2 separate regions of the Homo sapiens genome follow, and region 2 is linked to region 1. Evidence: promoter capture Hi-C in human tissues and cell types (Jung and others, 2019). All regions are on one chromosome and are shown on one strand. Each heading gives the region's core, a stretch centred on a gene start or on the middle of the fragment in contact. The rest is flanking DNA. Distances are from core to core; before and after follow the strand shown.

What was found. The method cuts DNA at HindIII sites, captures the fragments that hold promoters and counts their contacts. A contact is called where the count stands out against the background at its distance.
Region 2: a contact is called between a fragment that was not itself captured here and the fragment with the promoter of HCAR1 in region 1, in 4 of the 25 tissues and cell types used here (lymphoblastoid cells, mesenchymal stem cells, spleen and 1 more).

What each region holds. Positions count from the first base shown.
Region 1 is chr12:122,729,039-122,732,541 of GRCh38, reverse strand. It overlaps HCAR1 (hydroxycarboxylic acid receptor 1), which reads left to right and starts at 1,698. Exons shown (of 1, transcript NM_032554.4): 1 at 1,698-3,503. The coding sequence starts at 2,203. The coding sequence ends at 3,243. RefSeq lists an enhancer at 2,269-2,936. The HindIII fragment of the contact is 12,382 bases long and covers 1-3,503 here.
Region 2 is chr12:122,616,770-122,620,272 of GRCh38, reverse strand. It overlaps KNTC1 (kinetochore associated 1), which reads right to left. Exons shown (of 64, transcript NM_014708.6): 58 at 1,876-1,930; 59 at 1,728-1,791. Among named protein-coding and RNA genes, the nearest start is that of MIR9902-1, 77 kb to the left of the region's middle. The HindIII fragment of the contact is 6,913 bases long and covers 1-3,503 here.

The DNA of each region.
Region 1 (3,503 bases), core at 449-2,948:
CATCATTCTAGCCCCTTGGCAGATTGAAGGGAGCTAGTGAAGATTTTTAAGTGAAAAAAGGTATATGATAATATCTGTGCTTCAGAAAAATCAGATTATTGTGTAGAAGATGACTTACAGGAAATAGATGAGAGGAAGGGAAACCAGTTAGGAAACTGTTTCAACAGTTCAGGTGGGAAGTGACTGCGGTCTGTGCTAGGGCGAGGCAGGGGAGAATGTGGGTGGACAGATTTGGAGTCCAGCATCCAGTGGGAAGAATTTAGCTTCAGTGTGCATCTAGAAGACAGACACATTCTTTCAATGCACCCCCTCTTTTCCGCCCCATTTTTTTTTTTTGAGACAGAGTTTCTTTCTGTCACCCAGGCTGGAGTTCATTGGCACGATCTCGGCTCACTGCAACCTCCACCTCCCGGGTTCAAGTGATTCTCCTGCCTCAGCCTCCTGAGTAACTGGGATTACAGACACATGCCACAACACCTGACTGATTTTTGTATATTTTTAGTAGAGATGGGGTTTCACCATGTTGGCAAGGCTGGTCTTGTACTCCTGACCTCAAGTCATCCACCTGCCTCGGCCTCCCAAAGTGCTGGGATTATAGATGTGAGCCACCGCGACTGGCCTCCACCCCATTTTCTTCTTTCTTTCTTTTTTCTTTTTCTTTTTCTTGTTGTTTTGTTTGTTTGTTTGTTTGTTTGTTTTAGACGGAGTCTGGTTCTGTCACCCAGACTGGAGTGCAGTGGCGCAATCTTGGCTCCCTGCAAGCTCTGCCTCCCGGGTTCACGCCATTCTCCTGCCTCAGCCTCCCGAGTAGCTGGGACTACAGGCGCCCGCCACCACGCCTGGCTCATTTTTTTGTATTTTTAGTAGAGACGGGGTTTTACCGTGTTAGCCAGGATGGTCTCCATCTCCTGACCTGGTGATCCGCCCGCCTGGGCCTACCAAAGTGCTTGGATTACAAGCGTGAGCCACCGCGCCCGGCCTCCACCCCATTTTCTAAACTGGAAGCTGAAAGGCACAGGGCAGATTAATAATCCTTAAAGCCAAAGGACAGGAAATTTTAGCAAAGACTCCAATTTTTTGTGCAGTCTAATGTTACTCATGATTGCTTTAGAGATGGACTCCTTAATCAACTCCTCCAATCCTCTTCCGCCCCCAGGGGGCAGTTTTAATTGATGGGCTCAGCACATAATTGAAATTAAAAACGTACATCTCATGGTGTTTGGCTCATTCAACAGCCAATGGAAACTCAGGGCCAAATCTTTGTAAAAGTTCTAGGCTCTGCTTCCCAGCAGAGGGGGAAACCGGCTCCCAAAGAGGCCGTTTTGTGGAGACAGACATATGAGAAGTGGGCTTCAGATCTATTTCATGGTCTTGGTGGTTGTGCAACTGGCCACTTTGGTTCACGGAAGGATGTAAAGGGCAGGGAGGTGGGAATAGAGCGGGGGAAAGGTGACTCCCGTCAAAGAATTTTTCTAACATCCATCAAGTATCGTGATTAGAACTTTTCTCTCCGCAGACTCCTCCAATTTTTGAGCGCGGTATTTTTCGGCACAGGAAATGGCCCGGAGGAGCTGCAGAGCAAAGCCTCCCCTCTCTGGCACCGCATGGGAGTGCCCCGTGGGATGAGGGAGAGGACAAGGCAGTCAGGCAAAGGTTACGGGAGGAAAGCAAAGGCAGGAGCCCAGAACCACTCCAGGAAATGTTTGGATTTCTCCACCAGGAGGGAGGACAAACAAGCTTTCTTCTTGCCTTCTGGGCAGCTTTGTGTGCTCTCCAGCACGGAGTCCGAGGAGGAACAGCGAAGCTGAAAATGAAAATTACTCTGGCGCTGGACCCAATCGCTCCTCTACGGCATCAATCTCATCGGACCCCCCCACCCTACCGCCTCTCAGAAATGACCACTTTTGCAAAATTGCATGCATTTCCAAGCTTCATCCGGCTCCAGGCTTGGCCTCTCCCAGAGGCAGGCGGCTTGTGAGACGGGCTCCAGAGAAAGGACCTCCCTGGGTCTCTCATTTCCTGGCTGAAGTTTCTCTTCTCGCTGCTGTGGCAGCATCCAACCCACACACACAGGACCCGCATCCTGGGTGATGAAGTCAGACACGCAGCAGCTGGGTGAGTGCTAACGCTCAGATAAGCATCTGTGCCATTGTGGGGACTCCCTGGGCTGCTCTGCACCCGGACACTTGCTCTGTCCCCGCCATGTACAACGGGTCGTGCTGCCGCATCGAGGGGGACACCATCTCCCAGGTGATGCCGCCGCTGCTCATTGTGGCCTTTGTGCTGGGCGCACTAGGCAATGGGGTCGCCCTGTGTGGTTTCTGCTTCCACATGAAGACCTGGAAGCCCAGCACTGTTTACCTTTTCAATTTGGCCGTGGCTGATTTCCTCCTTATGATCTGCCTGCCTTTTCGGACAGACTATTACCTCAGACGTAGACACTGGGCTTTTGGGGACATTCCCTGCCGAGTGGGGCTCTTCACGTTGGCCATGAACAGGGCCGGGAGCATCGTGTTCCTTACGGTGGTGGCTGCGGACAGGTATTTCAAAGTGGTCCACCCCCACCACGCGGTGAACACTATCTCCACCCGGGTGGCGGCTGGCATCGTCTGCACCCTGTGGGCCCTGGTCATCCTGGGAACAGTGTATCTTTTGCTGGAGAACCATCTCTGCGTGCAAGAGACGGCCGTCTCCTGTGAGAGCTTCATCATGGAGTCGGCCAATGGCTGGCATGACATCATGTTCCAGCTGGAGTTCTTTATGCCCCTCGGCATCATCTTATTTTGCTCCTTCAAGATTGTTTGGAGCCTGAGGCGGAGGCAGCAGCTGGCCAGACAGGCTCGGATGAAGAAGGCGACCCGGTTCATCATGGTGGTGGCAATTGTGTTCATCACATGCTACCTGCCCAGCGTGTCTGCTAGACTCTATTTCCTCTGGACGGTGCCCTCGAGTGCCTGCGATCCCTCTGTCCATGGGGCCCTGCACATAACCCTCAGCTTCACCTACATGAACAGCATGCTGGATCCCCTGGTGTATTATTTTTCAAGCCCCTCCTTTCCCAAATTCTACAACAAGCTCAAAATCTGCAGTCTGAAACCCAAGCAGCCAGGACACTCAAAAACACAAAGGCCGGAAGAGATGCCAATTTCGAACCTCGGTCGCAGGAGTTGCATCAGTGTGGCAAATAGTTTCCAAAGCCAGTCTGATGGGCAATGGGATCCCCACATTGTTGAGTGGCACTGAACAAGCAGACCAACAACACTGAGGAAGATAGAGTGGTGACTTAGAATTAACTCGTGCTAAGGGGTCGGGGGCTTTGAAAATGCCACCCCCCTTTCTTATTGCAAGACGGCTTCTCGCACATGAACTGCATCCTTCTCATTCTGTCGGAAATGAAATTCACACAACTATACCTTTTGGGGAGGTTCCAGTTGATTGAAGTGAGTTGGCTGCATTTTCTTATCTGATCACAATGGCAGGGGACAGAATGTGCATGGAGTGGA
Region 2 (3,503 bases), core at 470-2,969, 110 kb after region 1:
CGGACTACTGTTTGCTATCATGATTATGTCTGAAAGCCTACAGATGCCTAAAGATAGGCTTCTAAATTCTCAGAAGACTCAAAACCTTTTTTTTTTTTTTTTTTGAGAAACAGTCTAGCTCTGTCACCCAGGCTGGAGTACGATGGCATGATCTTAGCTCACTGCAACCAACACCTCCCGGGTTCAAGTGATTCTCCCTCCTCAGCTTCCTGAGTAGCTGGGATTACAGGCATGCGCCACCATGCCCAGCTCATTTTTATATTTTTAGTAGAGACGGGGTTTCACCACGTTGGCCAGGCTGGTCTCGAACTCCTGACCTCAAGTGATCCACTCGCCTCAGACTCCCGAAGTGCTGGGATTACAGGTGTGAGTCGCCGCACCCAGCCAGAAGACTCAAAATATATGCGACAACGCTGTATGATTTAGGGTAGTCACCAAAAGTACTCTATGCTCATACAGTAGGTACTCATTTTAGAGAATGCTCAGTTTACTAGTCGCACAACACATGGGAAGTAGACATTGTAAAAATAATCAAGATATTTTGGTATAAAAACAAGTGTTGGCCGGGCGCGGTGGCTGAAGCCTGTAATCCCAGCACTTTGGGAGGCCGAGGCAGGTGGATCATGAGGTCAGGAGATCGAGACCATCCTGGCTAACACGGAGAAACCCCGTCTCTATTAAAAATACAAACAATTAGCCGGGCATGGTGGTGGGCGCCTGTAGTCCCAGCTACTCAGGAGGCTGAGGCGGGAGAACGGCGTGAACCCGGGAAGCAGGGCTTACAGTGAGCCGAGATGGCGCCACTGCACTCCAGCCTGGGTGACAGAGCAAGACTCCGTCTCAAAAACAAAACAAAACAAGTGTTGCTGGGCGCAGTGCCTCACATCTGTAATCCCAGCAATTTGGGAGGCTGTCTCTACTAAAACTACAAATATTAGCCAGGCGTGGTGGTGCATGACGCATGCCTGTAATCCCAGCTACTCACGGGATGGCTCATGCCTGTAATCCCAAAACTCTGGAAATTCCATCTCTACTAAAAATACAAAAATTAGCCTGGCATGGTGGCACGTGCCTGTAATCCCAGCAACTCAGGAGGCTGAGGTGGGAGAATGGCGTGAACCTGGGAGGCGGAGCTTGCAGTGAGCTGAGGTCGCACCACTGCACTCCAGCCTGGGTGACAGAGCAAGACTCCGTCTCAAAAACAAAAAACAAAACAAAAACAAAAAACAAAAAACAAAAAACAAAACAAGTGTTGCTGGGCGCAGTGCCTCACACCTGTAATCCCAGCAATTTGGGAGGCTGTCTCTAATAAAATTACAAATAATAGCCGGGCGTGGTGGTGCGTGGCGTATGCCTGTAATCCCAGCTACTCACGGGATGGCTCATGCCTGTAATCCCAACACTTTGGAAATTCCATCTCTACTAAAAATACAAAAATTAGCTGGGCATGGTGGCACGTGCCTGTAATCCCAGCTACTCAGGAGGCTGAGGCAGGAGAATCGCTTGAATCTGGGAGGTGGAGGGTGCAGTGAGCCGAGGTTGTGCCACTGCACTCCAGCCTGGATGACAGAGCAAGACTCCATCTCAAAACAACAACAACAACAACAAACACGTGTTATGCTTAACTTCCTAACAAAAAGGAATTACTCATTAGAGATATCTATTAGAAGGGAATCTTATAAGCAACAAACTTTTTTTTTTTTTGGTAGAACAAATATTTTGCTTACTCGAGGACAGCGATGAGACTCTCAGAACAATCTGACAGCTGATCAGGACTTAAAGGACAAGAGGCTGAAAACAAAACAAAAAAACAACCATGATATACACACACTCAACTATAAAATGCTGTAGCCAATGTTTCAGAGAGCGAAATACCTGAAAGCAGTGGTATCTGTATCACACGCTGCCACGCTTTGCTGAAGTAGGGAACCTGTGAAAACAAGTCCACGTTTGGGATATTCATGTTAAGGATATTACAAACTCTCTTTAATTTGCAGTCTAGGCCAGGCGCGGTGGCTCACACCTATAATCCCAGCACTTTGAAAGGCTGAAGCAGGTGAATCACTTGAGGTCAGGAGTTCGAAACCAGCCTGGCCAATATGGCAAAACCCCGTCTCTACTAAAAATACAAAAATTAGCCAGGCATGGTGGTGCATGCTTGTAATCCCAGCTACTCGGGAGGCTGAGACACAAGAATCGCTTGAACCCGGGAGGCGGAGGTTGCCTGGGTGACAGAGCGAAACTCCATCTCGAAAAAGGTATTATGAACTCTCTTTAAATTGCAGCCTAAATGTTCTGAAATTAGATAATGGTGATGGTTGTACAATTTTATGAATATAGCAGAAACTACTTGATTGTATACTTTCAAAAGGATGAATTTTACAAGTGAATTGTATCTCAACAAAAAAATTAGATAAATCGCTATGCGCTGATACGGAACACTCTCTAGAGGCCGCTGTTAAATGGTCACAAAACTGTACATTTATAGTTTATATTCCAGATGACTAAAATCATAAGCTGATATCTCCCTGTTTGAGATGATTAAGGTTCTAGCATAATGTTCTTCATAACTGTATCTTTCAGGATCTCATTATACAATCCTTGCTGATTCATTATTCCATTTGGCAAAAAGTCAGAACCCAACTCAGAAAAGAAAATTAATCCTTAGCCGGTTATGTGCCAGGGCCACAGGAAAGAAGGAAGGGGACAAGAGAAAGAATTTCAAGAAGGTGAATAAGGAAAGAACACTGGCCAGGCGCGGTGGCTCACACCTGTAATCCCAGTACTTTGGGAGGCCAAGGCAGGAGGATTGTTTCAGCTCAGGAGTTCTAAGACCAGCCTAGGCAACATAGCAAGACCTCCATCTCTATACATTTAAAGAAAAAAAAGAGGAAAGAAAATGTAAACTTCCATCAATAGAGGAGTGGTTAAGTAACTTCAGGTATATTTTACCACATATTCTGGAGAATAATCAAGCATTAAAAATAATAAAATACCTCAAAAGGCTAAACATAGAGTTACTGTAAGACCCAACAAGCCCACTTCTAGGTATATACTCAGGAGAAATGAAAACATGTTCAGTGAAAACTTGTACACAAATGTTCATAGCAGCATTATTTATAATGACCAAAAATAGAAACTCAAATCTTTATCAACTGGCAAATGGATAAATAAAAGTGGTATATCCATATAATGGAACATTATTTGGCAATAAAGACGAATGAAGTTCTGATCCATGCTACAATGTGGATGCTGAGTGAAAGAAGCCGGACACAAAATCCCACATAGTGTGGGATTCTGTTGATACAAAATGTCCAGAATAGGCAAATCCATGGACAGAAAGTAAATTAGTGGTCACTGGGGGCTGGAGGGAGTGGGGAATGGGGAATGATTGCTAATGGATATGAATTTTCTTTTTGGGGTGAGGAAAATGTTCTGGAATTAGATAATGGTGAGGCTGTACAACTCTGTGCATATACCAAAAACTACTTCATTGTGTATTT